Regions from separate parts of the Homo sapiens genome. Here regions 1 and 2 are each linked to region 3. Evidence: promoter capture Hi-C in human tissues and cell types (Jung and others, 2019). All regions are on one chromosome and are shown on one strand. Each heading gives the region's core, a stretch centred on a gene start or on the middle of the fragment in contact. The rest is flanking DNA. Distances are from core to core; before and after follow the strand shown. Region 1 overlaps ADAMTS2 (ADAM metallopeptidase with thrombospondin type 1 motif 2). Region 2 has its middle 73 kb from the start of RUFY1. Region 3 holds the start of ADAMTS2 (ADAM metallopeptidase with thrombospondin type 1 motif 2).

Evidence for each region. The method cuts DNA at HindIII sites, captures the fragments that hold promoters and counts their contacts. A contact is called where the count stands out against the background at its distance.
Region 1: a contact is called between a fragment that was not itself captured here and the fragment with the promoter of ADAMTS2 in region 3, in 3 of the 25 tissues and cell types used here (H1 embryonic stem cells, IMR-90 fibroblasts and mesenchymal stem cells).
Region 2: a contact is called between a fragment that was not itself captured here and the fragment with the promoter of ADAMTS2 in region 3, in 1 of the 25 tissues and cell types used here (dorsolateral prefrontal cortex).

What each region holds. Positions count from the first base shown.
Region 1 is chr5:179,144,146-179,146,845 of GRCh38, reverse strand. All of the region lies in intron 10 of ADAMTS2 (ADAM metallopeptidase with thrombospondin type 1 motif 2), which reads left to right. Among named protein-coding and RNA genes, the nearest start is that of ZNF354C, 85 kb to the right of the region's middle. The HindIII fragment of the contact is 7,607 bases long and covers 1-2,700 here.
Region 2 is chr5:179,476,019-179,478,718 of GRCh38, reverse strand. No RefSeq gene overlaps it. Among named protein-coding and RNA genes, the nearest start is that of RUFY1, 73 kb to the left of the region's middle. The HindIII fragment of the contact is 4,382 bases long and covers 1-2,700 here.
Region 3 is chr5:179,344,091-179,346,790 of GRCh38, reverse strand. ADAMTS2 (ADAM metallopeptidase with thrombospondin type 1 motif 2) reads left to right here and starts at 1,330. Exons shown (of 22, transcript NM_014244.5): 1 at 1,330-1,601; 2 at 2,630-2,700. The coding sequence starts at 1,463. LOC105377759 (a long non-coding RNA gene) reads left to right here. Exons shown (of 3, transcript XR_941311.3): 3 at 12-430. The HindIII fragment of the contact is 12,907 bases long and covers 1-2,700 here.

The DNA.
Region 1 (2,700 bases), core at 178-2,677, 200 kb after region 3:
TTCTAATTTATTTATTAGAAAGGAAAGAAAATTCAGATAAAAATTAATGGGATATGAAACTAAAGTAGTAGAAAATGAGCAAGGAAATAAAAAAAATAATAACTCTGACTTCAAAAAGCTCATTGTCACCAAAAAAGAAAGGTTTTATATCAAACCAAAAGCAGTTGCTCATTAGGAGGAAGAGACACATATCAAAGAAGTTAACAGGCCTTGGAGCGTTTGACAGTCTCATTAACGAAGAGGAGTGAATCTGATGAACACATAGGAAAATGGTTCAGACATCTTTCTGATTTGCCATGAAATGTTGACAACATCAAAGACGCCAGGGAGCTGCGAACGCTGCCACTGCAGTCAGGGCGTCCACGGCAACTGCTACTGAGCGTTGCTCATCCAAAGAGTGTCTTAAAGTCAAGCTCCCACAGAGAAAACTTGAAATGCCCTGAAAACCACATCAAGGACGGAAACCAGAGAGCACCTCCTCCAAATGTCATCATCCTAAATGTTCAGATGGCGTCACCCATAACTTCTTTAAAGTACTGATCATTTTTTAAAAAGAAAGAATTTCCCTCAATATGCCAGGGCCAAGTGCTGGCCAACTCCATCTGCTGCCTGTTTGGTTGGTATTGGTTTTTTTCCCTAACAGCTTTAATAAGGTGAGATCTATATTTAAATTCACTTTTTAAAGTGTACAGGCCGGGTGCAGTGGCTCATGCCTGTAATCCCAGCAGTTTGGGAGGCTGAGGCAGGAGGATCACCTGAGGTCAGGAGTTTGAGACCAGCCTGGCCAACATGGTGAAACCCTGTCTCTGCTAAAAATACAAAAAAATTAGCTGGGCCTTGTGGTGGGCACCTATAATCCCAACTACTCAGGAGGCTGAAGCAGGAGAATCACTTGAACCCGGGAAGCAGAGGTTGCGGTGAGCCGAGATCTCGCCACTTCGCTCCAGCCGGGACAACAAGAGCGAAACTTCGTCTCAAAAATAAATAAATAAGTAAAAGAGAGTGTACAATTCAGTGATTTTCAGTGTATTCATAGAGTTTTACAGCCATCACAACAAACAAGCGCTGGAACATTTTTGTCACTCTGAAAAGTTCCAAACCCTTTAGTAGTCACCTCAATCCATCCTACTCTCGCCCAACTCCAGATAGCCACTCGTAGCCACTCATCCTCTTGCTGTCTTTATCGATTTTCCAATTCTGGACATTTCATATCAATGGAATCATACAACATGGGACATTTTGCGCCTGGCGTCTTTCACTTGGCATAATGTTCACAGGGCTCATCCCTGTTGTAGTGTGCAGCAGCCCTGCATTCCTTCCTGTTGCTGAATACTAATCCACTGTGTGGGTATTCATCATTTATTAGTTGATGGACATTTGGGTTGTTTCCACCTTTCGGTAATGATGGGAAATACCGCACAAACATTCGTGTACAAAGTATTGCGTGCATGGGTCGTTTTTCTTGGATGTACACCTAGAAATGGAATCATTGGATTTTATGGTAACTCCATGTTTGACATTTTGAGGAACTGCCAGTTTCCCAAAGCAGCCTGTTTTACATTCCAACTGGCAATGATGCTTCAGATTTCTCCATATCCTCCCCAAAACTTGTTATTTTATTTGTTATACCAATCCTAGTGCATGTGAAGTGATATATCTCATTGGGGTTTTGATTTGTATTTCCCTAGTGACCTATGATGACCGTCTTTTCATGTGCTTAATGGCAATTTGTATATATTTTTTGTATAAATGTCTATTTAGATCCTTTGCTTATTTTTTCATGGAGTTATTTATATTTTTATTATTGAATCCTAAGAGTTTTTTATTTATTCTGGATACAAGTCTGTTATCACACTCACCAGTGTAAGTGGTCTGCAAATATTTCCTCCCATTCTGTGGGTTGTCTTTTCACTTTCGTGATGGCATCATTGAGGTGCAAAAGTGTTTAATTTTGATGAAGTCTAATTTATCTATTTTTACTTTTATCACCTGTGCTTTTGGTGTTGTATTTGAGAAACCATTACTTAGGTCAAGAAGATTTACTCCTATGTTTTATTCTCAGAGTTTCAGCTCTTACATTGACATCTGTGATCCATTTTTGAGTTAATTTTTGTGTAAGTGTGAGGAAGATGTCCAACGTCATTCTTTTGCATGTGAATATCCAGTTGTCTCAGAACCATTCGTTGAAGAGACTATTCCTTTTCCATTGAATTGTCAAAGTTTAACTTATCAAATGTAAAGGTTTAGTTCTAGGCTTTTGTTCTATTCCGTCGGTATATTTGTCTGTCCTTATGCCAGGGATACACTGTCTTGATTACTGTAGTTTAATAGTAAGCTTCGAAATGGTGAAGTGTCTTCCCACTTTGCTCTTTTTTCAATATTATTTTGGCTATTCTACATCCTGTGACTTTCCATATGAATTTTAGGAGCAGCTTCTCAACTTTGCAAAATTCTAGTCTGCATTTTGATAGGAATTATGTTGAACCTGTAGATCAGTGTGAAAGTATTTCCATTTTAACACTGATCAATGAACATTGAGATGTCTTTCCATTTACTTAGAACTTGAACTTCTTTCAATGATGTATTGTAATTTTTAGTGGACACGTTTTGCATTCCTTTTGTTCAATTTATTACTAAGGTTCTTTTTTTCTTTTTGGTGCTATTGTAAATGGAGTTATTTTCTTAATTTCATTTTTAAAT
Region 2 (2,700 bases), core at 112-2,611, 130 kb before region 3:
GTTTTGCTTTTTACCAGTTTAAGTGAAGTGTTTTTTCTGAAGGCTCTGAGACAGAATTGGATTCATGCCTCTCTCCTGGCTTCTGGTGGCTGCCGCAATCCTTGACCTTCTTTGGCTTTTGGACGCATCACTGCCACCTGTGTCTCCGTCTCCACATCGCCTTCTCCTCTTTGCCTTTTGTCTCCAATGTCCTTCTTCCTTTTCTTACAGCTGTCATTGGATTCAGGGCCCACTTTGACTCCAGGATGATCTCAACTCGAGACTCTTCATTACAGTTGTAAGGACCCCTTTCCAAATAAGGTCACACTCACAGTTCCAGGGGTTAGGAGCTGGACATACATTTTTGGAGGCCTATTCACCCCCTACAGAGATGGAAAACAGACGAGTGGCTGTCAGAGGTTAGGGATGGTGGGGACATGGCTGTGTAGGTGACTATCATGGGGTGGCTCCCAAGGGTGATTTTTGTGGCAATGGGACAGTTTTGTATTTTGATTGTAATAGTTACATGAAACTACACATATGATAAGATGACACACATTGGGTCGGGCTTGGTGGCTCACGCCTGTAATCCCAGCATTATGGGAGGCTGAGATGGGCAGATCACCTGAGGTCAGGAGTTAGAGATCAGCCTGGCCAACAAGGTGAAACCCTTTCTCTACTAAAAATACAAAAACTAGCCAGGTGTGGTGGCGGGCTACGTATAGTCCCAGCTACTCGGGAGGCTGAGGCATGAGAATGGGTTGAACCTGGGAGGCAGAGGTTGCAGTGAGCTGAGATCGCGCCACTGCACTCCAGCCTGGGCGAGAGAGTGAGACTCTGTCTCAAAAAAGAAAAAAAAAAAAGATGACGCACATTGCACCAATGTCAATTTTCCCGGTTTTGATGTTGTACCATAGTTATGTAAGATATTGTCACTGGGAGAAACTGTGTGAAGTGTAAATGGGGACATCTCGATACTATCCTTGCAACTTCTGTGAATCTATAATTGTTTCCAAATAAAATGTTCAACAAAACCCTACGTGCACATGCACACACAGACACAAACATAAGCAAAGTCAAAAGACAAATGACAAACAGGCAAAAAAATTCTTTTCTTTCCCAGAACAAGACCCAAATTGATTCAGCAGACATTTTAATTAGGAAATCCTATAAATCAGGACCACTTTTAATTTCAGACACTCCGTTATGAAGCGTACATCTACATCTGGAGGATGAACAGGCCATTGAATCTCTTAAAAACTGGCTTTGCTACCTTCGCATTTGGGGGTAGGACCTTCGTAAGACACCATTAAGCTTCAAAGGGCAAAGCCTGTGATTTCTCCTCGGGGAAAGCCACATTTTAAAACCAGCTTCGGTCACAAAGAACAGCTGCATGGGAGAAGGAGACAAACCGCACGGGGAGGATGTGCAGAGCCTGAGGCCCACAGCTTCACAGAGGCCAGCACAGAGCAGAAAAACATCCAGGGTCTCTTGTCCATTCCTACAGACACCAGCAAGGATGGAATAAGAAAGTTGGGCTGGGAGGATGGGAGAGAGGCTCAAGAGATTGTTTAGGTGGGCCCAGTGGCTCACGTCTATAATCCCAGCATTTTGAGAGGCCAAGGCAGGAAGATTGCTTGAGGGCGGGAGTTTGAGATCAGCCTGAGCAACATAATGAGATCCCATCTCTACACAAAAATACAAAAATTAGGCGGGGCGCGGTGGCTCATGCCTGTAATCCTGGCACTTTGGGTAGCCGAGCAGGGGGTGGATCACGAGGTCAGAAGTTCAAGACCAGCCTCGCCAAGATGGTGAAACCCCGTCTCTACTAAAAATACAAAAATTAGCCAGGCGCTGTGGCAGGTGCCTGTAATCCCAGCTACTTGGGAGGCTGAGGAAGGAGAATCGCTTGAACCTGGGTGGCAGAGGTTACAGTGAGCCGAGACCATGCCACTGCACTCCAGCCTGGGCAACAGAGCGAGACTCCGTCTCAAAAAAAAAAAAAAATTAGCCAGCATGGTGGTGGCATGCACCTGTGCTCCCAGCTACTAGGGAGACTAAATCAGGAGGATCACTTGAGCCCAGGAATTTAAGGCTGCAGTGAGCCAAGATTGTGCCACTGCACTCCAGCCTCGGCAACAGTTTTTAAAAAGCCAGTTTTTAAAAGATTCAATGGCTTATTCATCCCCTAGAGGTAGATGTACACTTCATAACGGAGTGTCTGAAATTAAGAGTGGTCCTGATTTATAGGATTTCCTAATCAAAATGTCTGCTGAATCAATTTGGGTTTTATCTTGGAAGAAAAAAGATTTTTTTTTTTTGCCTGTTTGTCATTTGTCTTGTTGTTTGTCATTTGTGAGACCTTGTCTGAAAACAAAAAAAGGAAAAAGATTGTGACTGCTTCTGAGAAAGCTCCTGGTGTGGCTAGAGTGGCCTTGTGGGAAAAGAACAAATTCTGTAAAGAAGAAAGCAAGAAAAAGCAAGTACTTCTCCCCACACATCCCCTCGCCCGTTTGCGTCCTCTGGAGACTCCAGGCAGTAGCGGAGCACAAACAGGGCTCTTCTCGGCGTGAGACAGAAAAGACACCGCGGTGAGTTAGCTTTCCCAGGAACTGCACGGCCTCCCACCTACAGCCAACCCTGATCTTGAACCGCGACTGGCAGGGTTGAGTCCTTTACAAGCGCACACTCAAATTCAACTCTCAAATTCCCCTTCAAAAC
Region 3 (2,700 bases), core at 81-2,580:
AAAGAGTACAGCTTGCAGGTGAAGATGGCTGTCCAGCTGCGATGCTCTCACACCCAGGACCCACAATCGAAAGAACCAAGGACGTGAGATCACAGTTAGAGCCTGCTGTGTAAGTCGTGTTTCCCCCAACGACTGGGACCTCCTGGCCAGCAGGGAGAGGCCTGAGTCATCTCCGGGTCCTCTGCCCCTGGCCAAAGCAAAGACCAAAGCCCTGGCCACACAGACCTGGGGCAGGGCAAATGAGAAAATCAAAGGGGTGGGTGTTCACCCTCTGGGGAAGTGAGGCAGAAATTGGGGGTCCCAGGGCAGAGATGATCAACAGCCTGAGAGGGGGCTCTCAGGCAGGCCCTGGAGAGAGGCCGCTGAGCTCAGACAGCATGGGAGGATCAGGGCCTTGCTGGAGAGGAGGGACTGGGGAGGGGTTCCGGTTGGCAACGGGCTCTAACAGCAAACTGGCCCCAGAATGGGCCCAGGTGTCCTTGGATGCTTGGGTGGAAAAGGTAGGCAGAGCTTGGAGAGGCCATTTCAGGTTGGGGGCCGGGAGTGCAATGGCGGGAGGACAGAATGCATACGTGGGGTTGAGGACAGGTGAGGGCAGGAGCCTGACTGTGCTCATGGGCAGAGAGCCCAGGTCTGGCAGGAAGAGGCTGTGCTGAGGCTGCAGCGGAGGGATGGGAAGGCAGATGGGGGACAGGGGACAGGGACTTCAGAGGAAGAGGAACTGGGGACTGAAGGAGCCTTGCCTCTCTCAGTAAGGGCAAAAGTTGATCTTTGGGGTCGCGCCCTGGGTGTACCCTCCTAACAGCATCTTCTGGCCTTTGCGGCCTCTATTTGGGCATTCGGCCTGGCTCAGACCTTGGACCCAGTAGTCAGTCCCCCCTCCCCTTTCATTCCCTCACCCTGTCCTGCCCCAGAGCACAGAGACAGGGGGATGCACCCCTTGAATTCCAGGGCTGATGGGTGGGACCCGGCACCCCAAGGGCTCTCTAGGTGGGGACGTTCGGCCGGCGCCGCTCCTCGGAGGTTGTGCCCCTGGGGTGGCTGGCGGCGGGGCTCCCCCGGCCCGGCCCGCGGCGCTTCTCTGCCGCCGCCTCGGGGTGTCTCTGCTTCGCTGCGAGCCCGGCACCGCGGCGACGGCGGCGCGAAGAGGGAAGCGGGCGGCGGCGGCGGCCGCGCCAAGATGCGCCGGGTCACCGCAGGCTGAGGCGCCCGCCGTCCCCGCCCTCCCCCTCGCTCGCCTCCCTCCCTCCCGCCTGCCTCCCTCGCTCGCTCGCTCCTTCCCTCTCCCCGCCTTCCCTCCGCGCTCCCCCGCCCGCCCCTCCGCGCCTCGCCTCCTCCGCCCCGCGCCCTGCGGTGCTGCAGCTGCGGGCGGCTCCAGCTGCCCCCAGATGTGGGCTGGGCGGCTCGCGGGGAACTTTCGCGCCGGCTGCGAGTGCGGGGCCCCGGCTGCAGTCCGGCTGCCATGGATCCGCCGGCGGGAGCCGCTCGCCGCCTGCTCTGCCCCGCGCTGCTGCTGCTGCTGCTGCTGCTGCCGCCGCCGCTCCTGCCGCCGCCGCCGCCGCCCGCGAACGCCAGGCTCGCCGCCGCCGCCGACCCCCCAGGTAGGTGCGGCCCGGCCCCTACTCCCCGGGACCCCCGCCGGCCTGGCCCTGTCCCGCGTGCCCCGCCGCCCCCTCCCCAGGCGTCGTCCAGCCTGACTTGGGCAAACTCCGCGCGCCCCGCCCGGGGCCAAGTTGGCCAACTTCGGGGCCGGGTTGGTCGCGCAGGGGGCGCCCCGCACCGCCCCCGAGCGCCTTGGGCCGGGGGAGCCTCGGAGCACTGGCGGCTCCTGAGTCGCGGAGGGTGGGGACGGAGGGCCGGGAAAAGCCCCGCGGCCAAGAGCGCAGAGTCAGCCCCAGCGGGTCCGAGGGGGGAGCCAGGGCGAGGCGGCGCCGGGGCTCGCGTCCGGGGACGCTCCGGAGGAGCCGGCTGCCGAGCGCGTAGCCTTGGGCCCTAAGGATTGGTTGGGGCGCCCCGCAGGGAATCCCCGGAGATCGGAGGGACCCTGTTCCACCCCTCCCAGTCCTCGGGCGCTCGGGGAGACGGGGCCGGCAGCGGGCTGAGCGGGAGCTGGACAGGCAGGACAGGCCGCTCGTGCTCGGGGAAGCCGAGACTCCGCCGCTCCGGAGGCTGGCGGTGAGGGCACTCGGGCGGCAGGGGCCCGCCGAGGGGTCGTGGCACACGGGTAAGGGGGCCAACCCGGAATGGCTTCCGAGCAGCTCCACGTCCTGCCAAGGACGGTAGGTGCAAGGGTCGGGGGACTCTCTGACGGGGTCGTCCCTTCGGGCACGGGGAGGTTCCCACCGAGCCCCAACCCTGAACGGGGCAGGGGGCAGAGCTCTTGGCAGGCAAGGTCTCCGGAGGAGGGAACGGCTGGGGAGTGGCGGAGCCCCGGAGTGGTGGCCCTGTTAACGCCCCTTCCCGGTTGCAGGAAAGCCGGGGAGGTGCAGGCTGGCTTCTGGGGTCGCCTGGCGGAATGCCCCTTCCCTTCGCAGTGGGGCGGGGTCTGGGGGGGCGTGGCTTGCCGGCGGGTCTCTGAGGCACTGGGGCTCCGTGGTCTCCGCCGATCTAACGCCCCTTCCCGTTGCAGGCGGGCCCCTGGGGCACGGAGCGGAGCGCATCCTGGCGGTGCCCGTGCGCACTGACGCCCAGGGCCGCTTG